2 separate regions of the Homo sapiens genome follow, and region 1 is linked to region 2. The links are contacts of gene promoters, found by promoter capture Hi-C in human tissues and cell types (Jung and others, 2019). All regions are on one chromosome and are shown on one strand. Each heading gives the region's core, a stretch centred on a gene start or on the middle of the fragment in contact. The rest is flanking DNA. Distances are from core to core; before and after follow the strand shown. Region 1 has its middle 57 kb from the start of TMCO5A. Region 2 holds the start of MEIS2 (Meis homeobox 2).

Region 1 (3,390 bases), core at 547-3,046, 780 kb after region 2:
AAAGCTAAACAACATTATAGCACTCTTTGGATAATACATCTCCTCCAATTCCAAATGCCATGGTTTGACAGTGCTCTCAGAAGTTCTTAAAGAAATTAAAGATAGACTTCCTATAAATAGATTGCCAATGCCTTTATATTAATTGAATTTGCCATCTCCCAAAGATTCTTTGGTGTGGCTAGCTGAAAGGTAATACAATTTGACCATTATCCACTTAAAGCAATTGAAATAAAATCTGTGTTGCATAGAATTAAAATCATATTTGGTGGCAATATTCATCAATAAGGATCATACCTAATCATACTGGAATGCTCTGAATTTCCCATGTGTAAATAACATTTCCAACTAGAGGCTGGAGGCTGGAGAAGACATTTTGGGTATTTCTCTGTTGTAGTCTGTATTACCATGGTAGCAGAAGGAGCACCAGACGGAGAGTTAGAGGACTGGGTAGAAGTCCTGGCATGACCACCATGTGTGTCCAGATGAATCCTGTCCTGTCTATGGACCTGAGTCGCTATTGATCTAAAATGTGACCAGATGATCTAGAAACCTCTCTCCTCCTCTGCAATGGTATGCCTCATCTGAGTAAACACGAACAGGAAGACAATGTGAGATGTTGCTGAGAGAATGTTATTACACCTTGGGTCTTCAGAAATCGGGTTTTTCCCAAAGTTACTGTGTCTCAGCCAGAGCCCCGCAGCATTTTGCTATCATATAAAAGACTAAATATGGAAAATGCTTGTCTGCTAAAGTGAATAGGAAAATGCAAAAATTTTTAAGTCATTTAAATATTTAACCAGAGCATAACAATTTATAATTTATAATTTATTATATTTTAAATAACTTTCAGAAAGAAATTCTGCACAGTTGCTCAGATTGCTTGAGAGTGAAGATTGCCCTCAAGAAAACAAAGCACAACAAAAAAAGTCTTTTGTTGTTGTTATTATTGCTGCTATCCTAGCATTTTAGGTCTAAAATAAATTCTCCTCCAATTAATATTGACAGGCCTCCTTTCTGAAGATCATAGTTCTGATACAAATAACTTTTCCATGGGTGTTTTTTATTTGGCTCTGTGGTGGTAAAATGCTAGCTACTGTTTACAGAGAATTTATGTGAACATTCCTGGGATATGAATTATCAGAGAGAAGCAGTGAATGCATTATATGAGAGAAGTATTAAATTCCTCTTCTCACTTGCTAAAGAAATACCTGATTTCTGGTAACTTATTCTCTATTCTCTATACCTGAGAAACCCGAGTGTGAGAATGAAAACAGCCCCCCGACCCTGTTCACGAAAGGATCACTGTGGCCACAATGTCAGTGCACAGTCTTGACTTCACCCCCATCCCCCGGTCTGTTCCACTTTTCCTTTTTCGTTCTCCAGTTATTGCCATGAACCAGAAACTTCCCACAGCATCTCACGGTGTTTTCTTGAAAATAACAATGCTATTAGAACACAACAAATACATAAACAAATCAATGACAGCAAAATGACAGAGTTTTGAATCATCGTGTCTAGGTGGCAGAAAAATTTCTCCTCATCCTCAAAAATATATAAAACTATTGGAAGTTTGCAGGAAATTTTTTCAATTATGTTCTTTAAAACTCTTCTCTTCAAGTAAAATTCTCTCTTAACAATGAAATTTATGAGAGATACTCACACATTTAGAGTAGACGAATGTGAAACTGGTAGGTCTTCATCATAGTTTGTCTTTACATCTGTGCATGTTTACATCTCATACCTAAATACCGATTTAAATTTTTTAACAAACATAACACTTAAATTCCATTTATTATTTCTTGTAAATCTCAATATATAAACCAAATATAAGATGCACCCAGTTTATCTCTCATTTCTCTAATTACATATGCAATGGTGCCTATTTACCAGGCAGTGCCTGCTTGATCCGAACTTTCCAGTGGATTTTAGATGACTCTGTCAGTTACACAACCAGGTTAGTTCAAAGACAGCGAAAAGCACTTGCATCCAAATGAAATCTATATTTGGTAATTCTTAAAATATCATTTTTCCATGGCTTTGTAGGGCATATTGCTTACTCAGATAATGTGCATGCCTTTCCAGTGAGGCAGTTTTTTGAAATGTGATCTTGGGTCACTTTATGTTAAACTTACTTACTCCACACATAGGATGAGTAATGCCAGATAAAGTACTGTCATTAAAAGCATTTTTATTAAGGGGCTAGTAGAGAAAACCTTTAAGCAATGTTATCAAGCTCTTTGTTGAACCAGGTGGGACATCTATATGAATAGGATCTCTTCAGACCTAGACCTCAGCCACAGCACACCTGGCCTATGTTTGGAAAAGAAAGTCTCTCTTGTTTGGCTACATAGTCGGTTACAAAGAGCCAAGACAACTTTAATTTATCCGTTAAGAATGGAGGCCCATATTTAAGAGTCATCAGCAATAAAGGAAAATACACTGGATCATTTCAAGTGCATGCTAATCATTTAATGTAATAAATGGAGCAACTCTAATTATCTCCTGAGGAAATGATTTCACACTAAAACAATGGGAATGAAGAGGTTACTTCAGGAGCATAATACCCAGCTGAAAGTTACTCATGTGAATCTGGAGATTTCTCTTGCATTTCAGGGGGGAGGGACTTTTTCCCCCACAGCCCTAATTCAGTTGCCTCCTTAACGGGGTTAAAGATATTTAGCACTGACCCTGCCGTGTGCTTGTTTTGTAACCCCAAGCAAAGCTCTCACCAAGCTCAAGATCGGTGTCCTTCCTGACTGCTTTGAAAGCTGCTCCCTAATAAGAGGGTATCTGACTTCAATGCAGCAAAACAAATAAATTAGTCTAGAGATCACTGTAACCTCCTCACTTCCTATTCCTTGCCTCCCCCAAAATGATCAATCTGCCACCTACGCTAGCCATTGCAAAAGAATTTCCAGTGAAATGCTTGAAATAATTTTTTAAATGTTTCAATCTGTCGTGACCAATATTTTTAAAAATTTTAAGTGTAGTTTTTTAAAGCTATTTTTGTTTACTTGTTGGCATCACAAAATTAAGGTTAAGAAATATAATGGAGGATTTGGGGAAGAATAAAATGTTTTAATGATTTGGTTGCTTCTCTTGCAAAAGACAGATTTCACCATAAGCTTAAAATGGTTTGCTAAATTCTATATTTCTGTTGCCTCATTGTTCTGTTTCTTTTGATGAAACACATAAAATGAACACTGTCTGTTTAGGCATTTTAAAAAACATATTCACATTAAATAGAATAACTACAGTGGATGGGTACACAACCCTGAAAACTAGGTAGCAGAATGATTTTGACTTTTTCAAATCCTTCAAGTAAATCCAAATCTAAACAAACAGACAGACAATATAGACTTGATTTTTGAACAGTTCTTCCCCCAATTT
Region 2 (3,410 bases), core at 821-3,320:
GCACACAGAAACCAAACCAGCCAAAACAACGGAGTTAAAAGTTGTGAGGAAAAAATGTTATTAAATTTAAAAATGAAAAAGCATGAACCAAGAGCAACGTTTAGAGAAGGAAGAGGAGGCGGCGAGGCCGGGGATTTGAGGGGGCGCCGGGAGGCCCCGCTCCCGCCGGAGGCAACAGAACCGTAGCGAGCCAACGGAGGGAGAAGTGGAGTTAGTGTGAGGAGGAAGCCCCGGATCCCACCCCTAACCCCCCTTCGCCTCCTCTGAGGATCCAATAAATCAAAAGGCGAAATGAAACAAAATAAAGAGAAGAAAAACGCTAATAATCAGCACGAGAACGCCGAGGACTAGGAAAGACTAGGGCCAGTGCCTCCCCGGGGGCAGGGAGCGGAGGGTGGGGGGGCGAATAACGTGAAAGTTACCAGAAACATTATTTAGCAGCGGATTCCCTGCGTCCTTGTCAATTTCAGAGACAAAACAAGCAGCCCAGGCTAGTAGTCTAGGCGGCGGCGCAGCGGCTGCGGCAGCGCGGCCCCAGCGGCGGCCCCGGCGGCGGCTCCTACGCAGCCCGTGCCCGCCCCGAGCCGCGCGAGCCACGGCGGCAGCGGCGCAGCAGCGGCAGCAGGAGAACCGGGGGAATCGCGCTGCTGGGGTAAAAGCTGGAGCGAGGCGAAAGCGTGTAACGATTGCACACGCACACACACACACCACTCACACGCACTCGCCGCCCGCCCGCTCGCACAGCGCTGGAACACGCGCGCCCAGACACGCACACACGCACGCACACACACTCGCACACACGCAGAGGCACGGGAGGGAAAGAAGCCGATGAATAATTTTGCTATTTTTTAAAATACTGGCCGCCATCATCAAGCAGCGAGCAGCAGCAGAAGCGTTGAAGGGAGAGGAGGCATCGGGACAGGCCCCTCTTAGGAGAGGATTTATATCTAGGTAAGTGTTGGAGATTTAAACCTACCCTTTGCGCCATCAGTCTGCGCTCCAATAAACTCCTGGATGTGTCGTATATTTAATATCCCAGTCCGGATAAGAAAGTGATCTAGGCTGAAGATTCCTTTTTTTTTTTTCCAAACCAAAGAGACTTCTCCCAATTCTCCAATATGCTATTTTTTAGGGGGGAAAAAAAGCCCAGTCTAGACAACGAAGAATTTTTTTTTCTGTGATATTTCTTCTTTTTCTCTTTTTTCCTCTTCTTCCTCCTCCTCCTGATCTTCCTCCTCCTCCTCCACCTCCTCCTCCTCCCCCCTCCCCTCCTCCTCCTCTTCGGTCCTCCTTTCCCCCTCTTTCTCTTCTCTTCCCCTCAGTTGGAAAAAAAAAGAAAGAAAAGAAAAAGAAGAAAAAGAAGAAAAAAATTGTCAAGCCCCCGAACTGAAGGTTACGAGCGGCCCGTCAGCAGCCCACATGTAACCGAACTGTCGTGTTTCATGGCTTTTTGCCACTCCAGCTGTCAATCAAAGCCCGGAATGTCAAGGTAGTGAATGAATGATGGTTGATGATGATGAAGAGGAGGAATCTTTCAGACCCGTTTTTTTCTTCCAGTAAAACTCCGCGAGGGGTTTCTGCTTCTTGAATTTTTTCCTCCCCCCTCCCCCCTTTTTTAGCTTTGCCCCCGCGGTATCTATAATACGATCCTCTCTCTTTAAAGTATTGTTCAAAGAAAGCAGTGAGAAAAATCAAGAAAAAAAAATGAATAGTTTGCAAAAATTGGACTTCCTCCCCCCCTTTCCTGGTAGGTATTTTGTCTCTCCCTCTCTCTCTTTCTCGCTCGCTCGCTCGCTCTCACTCGCGCTCGCTCTCTCGCGCTCGCTCTCTCTCGCTCTCTTTCTCTCTCTGGGAGATGAGTGAGTGTCAGTAGGTGTTGGCAGGTTGGCTGCTGCCTGGCTTATTGAAGAGCCTCAGTTTGGCGGCGCGGGTCGGCGGCGGGAGAACGAAATGACGGAACCCGGAAGTCGTGGTGGCCATAGCCCGTCGTACGGCGGAGACACATCCCGGGAGTGGGGAGCGGGAGCGAGGAGGAGCGCGCCGCGCCGAGCCTCTGATATGCAACGAGTGCGATCGGACAGCCCCGGCTGGGGGGGTGGGGGAGGCGGGGGGGCGGGAGGGGGAGGGGAGGCTCGAGCCGGGCGGACCCGAGCAAATCAGCAAGCCTGCTCCTCCACGGGGATGGGGGACGGCGGGGGGGAGGAAAAGGAGAGTGTGTCTGTGTGTGTGAGTGTGTGTGTATGTGTGTGCGTGCGCGCGTGTGTGTTGCGCGCGCGCGCGCGCGAACAGGGAGAGAGGGAGAGGGGGAGAGAGAAGAGGACAGGGAGAGCGCAGAGAGGAAAACTGCAGAAAACCACAGGGAAAGTACGGTACCGCCTCAGATCTTTTCATTTAAAAAAAAAAAAAAACTTACTTCTAGTTCATTTTCCCATCACTCCCGGCTCCTGCCTAACTGGGTCTTGCCGGGGACGTTTGGCATGGCGCTCTAGCTTTTGTTCCTTTTAATTCCGCGGCCTCCCTCTCCTCTGCCCGCCGATTACAGCACCCCGAAGGCTTCCTGCTAACGTCCAAGGGCAGCAAGCTCTGCAGACGGTACCACTGCCGGGCTAAATTTTTTATTAAGTGGCACTTTCTTTTCTGCGCAGATCCAGCAACCTTGTCAATACTCATTTTTTTCCAGGACCAGAAGAGACCAGCTTAACTCAGAGCACACTCCCTCCAAGCGGTGCGGACAAGGGGCCACCCCGAGAGTCTTTGGGGGCCGCGGCGGAATCGGGAGGGAGGAAGTGAGGAGGCAGTCATCTGGGTCCGATGTAGCCAAAGGCGTGTGTGTGTGTGTGTGTGTGTGTGTGTGTGTGTGTGTGTGCGCGCGCGCGCCCGCGCGCCCGTGCGCGCGCGCGACTAGTGTGCGTCTCCAAAGTGGATCTCACTCAGAGCTGGGAAGCACAGGAGGAAAAGACGGAGAGAGTGGGGGAGAAAGAAGTTGCCGGGCGAGGAGGAGTGGCCGGCGCTCACAGCCCAGCTTTGTTGTGGTCGCCCGAGGCGCAGCGGCGGGCCGCGGTAACGCCTGCTAATGGCTGTGTTAATTACACAGGGGCGATTTCGCGGGGTCAGGGAGATGGGGCCAGCTCCGAAAGAACTTTTCCAAAAAGGAAAAGGAAACGAAGGGAACTACCCCACACCGTTTGGGTGGAAACTAGTTGTGGCCGGTGCCCTGTCCTCCCTGGCCCGAGCTGCACCAGGCTTCACCTCTGCGCGGCTGGTTTCCCGGCGGCCGCGCGTCAATCACTACGAGCCCGGAGTTGGGGGCGGAGCCACGGTCACCCCGCGCAAGCCTTGCCGCCCAGCAGCCCCCATGCCCCTCGGCCCCTTGTGGCGCGGCCGGGCGGACAGGCGCTGGAAGCGCGTCC

What was found. The method cuts DNA at HindIII sites, captures the fragments that hold promoters and counts their contacts. A contact is called where the count stands out against the background at its distance.
Region 1: a contact is called between a fragment that was not itself captured here and the fragment with the promoter of MEIS2 in region 2, in 1 of the 25 tissues and cell types used here (dorsolateral prefrontal cortex).

What each region holds. Positions count from the first base shown.
Region 1 is chr15:37,875,996-37,879,385 of GRCh38, forward strand. No RefSeq gene overlaps it. Among named protein-coding and RNA genes, the nearest start is that of TMCO5A, 57 kb to the right of the region's middle. The HindIII fragment of the contact is 5,498 bases long and covers 1-3,390 here.
Region 2 is chr15:37,098,479-37,101,888 of GRCh38, forward strand. It overlaps MEIS2 (Meis homeobox 2), which reads right to left and starts at 2,071. Exons shown (of 12, transcript NM_170675.5): 1 at 977-2,071. The coding sequence starts at 988. LOC124903465 (a long non-coding RNA gene) reads left to right here and starts at 770. Exons shown (of 2, transcript XR_007064581.1): 1 at 770-951; 2 at 1,323-3,410. RefSeq lists silencers at 443-642, 793-852, 3,302-3,410 and enhancers at 1,912-2,071, 2,322-2,601. The HindIII fragment of the contact is 11,980 bases long and covers 1-3,410 here.